Regions from separate parts of the Homo sapiens genome. Here region 1 is linked to region 2. Evidence: promoter capture Hi-C in 16 types of primary human blood cells and fetal thymus (Javierre and others, 2016). All regions are on one chromosome and are shown on one strand. The core of a region is centred on a gene start or on the middle of the fragment in contact, and the rest is flanking DNA. Distances in the headings are between cores, read along the strand shown. Region 1 overlaps LMTK2 (lemur tyrosine kinase 2). Region 2 holds the start of SLC25A13 (solute carrier family 25 member 13).

Evidence for each region. Contacts are between HindIII fragments. The CHiCAGO score rates a contact against its expected background, and 5 or more counts as called.
Region 1: a contact is called between a fragment that was not itself captured here and the fragment with the promoter of SLC25A13 in region 2, in 3 of 17 cell types (neutrophils, monocytes and M2 macrophages). The highest score is 9.1, in neutrophils.

Annotation. Positions count from the first base shown.
Region 1 is chr7:98,125,977-98,128,676 of GRCh38, reverse strand. The region is part of intron 1 of LMTK2 (lemur tyrosine kinase 2); the gene reads right to left. Among named protein-coding and RNA genes, the nearest start is that of LMTK2, 20 kb to the right of the region's middle. The HindIII fragment of the contact is 7,179 bases long and covers 1-2,700 here.
Region 2 is chr7:96,320,835-96,323,534 of GRCh38, reverse strand. SLC25A13 (solute carrier family 25 member 13) reads left to right here and starts at 1,437. Exons shown (of 18, transcript NM_014251.3): 1 at 1,437-1,593. The coding sequence starts at 1,579. RefSeq lists a silencer at 1,302-1,641. The HindIII fragment of the contact is 9,010 bases long and covers 1-2,700 here.

The DNA.
Region 1 (2,700 bases), core at 33-2,532, 1.8 Mb before region 2:
CCCCACACACGGGCAGAGCCACAGCCCTCGGACCTCTATGCCAACGTGTGTTTAGGAACAAAACAGGAATCTTAATTGGTGCCATCTAAGATGTGATTTAAATTTGTTTTAGTCTGAACACTGCGCGTATCAGTTTGCTAGGGCTGCTAAAACAAAATACTACAGGCTGGGGGTTTCAACAGCAGAACTTGACTTTCTCACAGTCCTAGAGGACTAGGTGTCGGCAGGGCTGGTTTCTCCTGAGGCCTCTCTCCTTGGCCTGTGGACAGCAGCCTTCTCCCTGCATTCTCAAAGGGGCTTTCTTCCGTGTGCATCCCTGGTGTCTCTGTGTGTGTCTAAAGTTCCCCATTTTACAAGGACAACAGTGAGAATGGACTACGGCCCGCCCTCAGGACTCACCTGTTTAAAAGGCCTATCTCCAAATACAGTTATAGTTTGAGGTACATGGAGGGGTAAAACTCAGCCCCTAGCACTGTGTCAATTTACTAATCTTTTCACCTTTTTAATTATTTATTTACTTATTTATTTATTTAGAGATGGAGTCTTGCTCTGTCTCCCAGGCTGGAGCACAGTGGCGCGATCTTGGCTCACTGCAACCTCCACCTCCCGGGTTCAAGCGATTCTCCTGCCTCAGCCTCCCAAGTAGCTGGTATTATAGGCACCTGCTACCGCACCCAGCTAATTTTTGTATTTTTTAGTAGAGACGGGGTTTCGCCATCTTGGCCAGGCTAATCTCAAACTCCTGATCTTAGGTGATCCACCCACCTTGGCCTCCCAAAGTGCTGGGATTACAGGCATGAGCCACCATGCCCAGCCTTAATTTTTTATTTTTAAGTGTACAAATAGGTGTATATATTTATGGCGTATGTGTGACGCTCTGATACAGGCATACAAAGTGTAATAACCACATCAGGGTATTTGGGGTGTCCGTCACCTCAGGCATCGATCATTTCTTTGTGTTAGCAACACTCCAATTCCACTCCTTTAGTTATTTTAACATATACTTGGTCCATGCATTAATTGAAGAAAGCCAATCCCACTGGCAGGGGTCCATCCTTGACAGCACAGACACAGGCATGAGGGCATCCTGCCTTCTAACTGGAAAAGCAAGTGTAAAGCAAGGGCCAGGTCCTTACACATCTCGCCTGTTTTCTGTTTTGCCCAGACCCTCTTGCCTCAGGGAATTTGCATAGGAGAATTCTGTGCCTACTTGAAAATTAACAATGGTGGCTACTTAGACAAAGGTTAGACAAAGAAAACTCATAGAACTGAGGGAAGCTAAGGGCCAGCAACCTTCCAAATGGGCCCAACATAAAGCCCATCTCTAAAACACATCGTTTGGGCCTTTTTCTCCTAGCACGTTAGGACCACTAAGCCTGTCTTCCTCTTCTAACACCCTGACAAGTAGCACTGCAGCCCAGAGACTTAATAAAATGAATCATCATCACACTACTTGGGGAAAAAAATCTGAACAATTATTGCAGATCACACATTTTTATTTAACGCCTCAAACTTACAAACCCATCTATCATCAAGGTTTCCTGTACACAGAATTTTAAGTCACAAAGTGTTTTCTTTGCCATAATATAACAATATATCTATTTATAAGAACATTAAATAACCTAGAATCTCCCTCAGGTATTCTAATATAGGAAAGGAAAAGGGAAATGAAGCGTGGCAGTAAATATACTCAGTCACACACAACAGTAAAGAGTGCACTGATGATCTCGTTCATGAATCAGAGATACCACAAAGACCCTAAGCCAGAATCTCAACAGCCTAGAGAAACAGATCGCTCTGTGTGCTAATCACAGACAGGGAAGAGTTCCTCTGTTCAAAAGTGATTTTCAAGGTCAGCCAGCCCAACTGCTCCCTCACACTTGCAGAAAGGTTATATAATTTGAGTGCTAATTAAATACCTGTGAATGAGATCATTTTATACGAAGCTGCTGGTTTCTCTCAGACTATTCCACTAAAATTTGTTATCAAAGTGCCATTTCATTCCCATTTTAAAACACTAACTAGGATGGAGACTACTACAGAAAAGCTCATCTAAGGCAGCACGGTGTGGCCAAAAGAATGTCGGGCTTGAATGACTTCTGCCAGATGACTGGGCCCCCACACCCCAAGAAATGAAAGGCTGGATATTCCGGAACTGGAACCTTGGTTAAGTTGCTGGCAGAGCTGAGCTATGGCGTCATCCACGGCACTTCCATGTCTTTAACAGCTTTGAATGGTGGTTCCACACTCCGGAAGCCGATGCAGGAACGGGAAGCATCTAGTCCCAGAAGGAGAGACTCAGAGCCAGATTCCCAGGGCTCAACCCCACAACCATCCCTGCAGTGGACCACCAACGTCTAGGGGAAGGATATTCTGTTTTGTCACACAACTTCCCATGTACGTCTGCAGAGATGTGCAGGCGAGTCAATGGCAGTACTAGATTCACAACACTTCGTCAATCCAACTTCTGCACAATACAGCTGAAAGATGGGAGAAGTGGCCTAAATGTCTGCTCCTTACTTCCCATGTAGGACAGACCCTAAATAACCTAGAAAAACATGTCTACTTTTTCTTTCAAATCTCCTACAATCCCTCGATGGAGTCTATGTTCTCAGAGCCCTGCTGGCTTCCTAAAGCCTAACTTAAGTTCTTGCAAATATAACTGAAATGCAATCTTAGGCAATGTGTCCTTCCAAGTTC
Region 2 (2,700 bases), core at 188-2,687:
GCCACTGCCCCAATCCCATAGCTCAAGATCAAGTTACCTTTTGATATGGTTTGACCGTGTCACTACCCAAATCTCATCTTAAATTGTAGTTCCCATAATCCCCACATGTCATGGGAAGGACCCGGTGAGAGACAACGGAATCATGGGGGCGGTTACTCCCATGCTGTTCTTGTGATAGTGAGTTCTTATGAGATCTGATGGTTTTACAAGGGGCTTTCCCCCCTTTGCTTGGCACTCATTCTCTCTCCTGCAACCCTGTAAAGAGGTGCCTTCCACCACAACTGTAAGTTTCCTGAGGTCTCCCAAACCATGCGAAACTGAGTCAATTAAATCTTTTGGTTTATAAATTACCCAGTCTCAGGTATTTCTTCATAGTGGCATGAGAATTCTCAGTATTCTTATTGAGCCCTGGGAACAGTCTGCTGCCTTAACAGGTTATACTGAAGTAAACATTTATGTGTCTCTTTCCCAATAGCCCTGAAGCTGTTTAACGGTTGGAACCAGTTCTTAAGTCATTTCGGGGTTTCCAGCACCAAGCACAGTGCCTAGCACATAGTAGGAAGGCACTCAATCAACGTTAATGAATTAAACTGATTAGTAATAAGTGCTTTTTGCTGCCATATTACATCCACAACCTACAATACATTAAAAGTCCTTTTCCCTGATCACCACTGTCTTATAAATTTTGATTACAAGGACAGAAGAATGAAATCCTGATGAAGAGGAGTAAGGCCTGGAGGTCATATAAGCAAATTTTCATTAAAATGCTTGTTTATTTATTTTAGTAGGGCCTATTTGGGGGAAGTCTTTTGACCCGGGCCTTTTGACTTCTACCGTTTTAACAGGTAGGGCTGAAATGGAGTAGTTTCATGAATATACGTTCTGCACTACATTCACTTGTTGGGTTCTTAAGAGTTCACCGATTTTGATCTAAAAGTAGGCGTGCCAGCAATATTTGCAATCTCGCCTTCTAAGTCAATGCTTTTGGATCAAAGTCTTTTTGGATCCAGTGTAAAGTGGAGCTCCTTCAAAGGGAACGCACAGGGGAAAAAATATCCAGCAAAGTATGTGTCCTAGTGGAGTTCTCAACTTCCCCAGGCCGTGCACCATCTGTCGTTACTTGCCCCTCCCATCGGTCCGAGGGCCCAGTAGCCCCTGGTATCAGCAGAAGCCAGCAGCTTCCCTGGTGGGGCCACCTGCCCTCAGGTGACGGGCTTGCACACGGCCAAGTTACCTCTGCCCACGCCGCAGAGGCCGCCGCTGCTGGACAGCGCAGCGGGGTCACGTGTCCCTGTCCAGCCACTGCCCCAGGATCTGAGCCCTCCCCGGCTGCAGGGCAGAGGCCGCTGGATCACGCGCACCCCGGCGGCCAAGGCTGGGCCCAGCCAATGGGCGGGCAGCATCCACATGACCCGCGCCGGCGGGAGGGCGTGGGGAGGCAGGCCAGGAACGCACGCTGCCTGGCCGTATCGCCGCCCCCACCGCCGCCGCCGCCGGGACTAGAAGTGAGCCGCCCGGGTCCCAAACGCCAGCCAGCCAGTCAGTGGGTCCCGCAGTCGCCCGCAACCGGGGCGAATCATGGCGGCCGCCAAGGTAACCGCGGGCCCGAGGCCGGGGGGAGCGCGCCTGCCGGATCAGCCTGGGGGTGCGAGAGGCTCGGGCGCTCACGTGTCTGGGTTGGTGCCACAGGCGGAGCAAAATGGGGTGCCGGGCAGCCGTTCCACCTTGCGGCTGCTGGAGGGAGGGGGCCACTCCTCCCGGGCAGCACAGGCGGTCGGTGCAGAGACCGAGGCCCGACCTCGCAGCGGAAACTTTGTGGGCCGGACACTCCCACTTGGCCGGGGAGGGAAGTTGGTGCCTGACGGGGCTGAGCCAGGGCCGACGAGGAGGAGCGGGCGCGACTGGGGCCTGGTGCACCCTGGGCCGGCAAGCGCTGGGGGTCCTCTCTACCTTCCCAGCGCGCTCCTGCTCCTGACCCCGCTGGTTGTTGACTCCGGCTTCTTCCAGGGGCCAGAGCCCGGGCTGAAGCCTGATCCTATTACGTTTCAAGGGCTCCGCCCTCCCGCGGGTGGGGAAGTTACTTTGACTTCCGTTTTGGAAACTGCCTAGGAGACTTGGTCTGCGCCTTTGTGAATAAAAAGTCCAGGGACTCTCCCCCTCCCCGCTTTCCCATCATTCCCATCTTCCCCCTCCCTCTCTCCATCTGACAACACTTAGATACCCGCCTCGGAGCATTTGAGAGGCTTCTTTTTGGGAACGATGAAACAGATTGTCCTGGGAGCCTGTCACTCCTGTGAAGTTGTACTTGAAAGGGGTTCTGTGTAATGTGAATCATTCACTAACCCAGAGGAAAGGCAACTCCAACACTTGACCTTTCCTCTTTCACCATTTCTTGAAACCTGGACACCATTTCAGTCTCTTTGGACTGCATTTCAACTTCTCTGGCAGAATACCATATTTAGTCCCAATCACTTGAATCATTTGGAATTTATTGCTTTTAATTTAAGTTCACGAAGGCAGCCCTCTAATCAAGCCTATACAACTTCTTAGCTCATTTTAAGTGCAGTGAACTTAAATATACCTAACATTTCAAACATTTGTCCTTAATCAAAACTCTGTGATAACCCTCAAGAGGAAAACATGGCCAACACATCATATTCCTATTTATTCAAGCAAACTAATCACATTTGCAATGGAAAT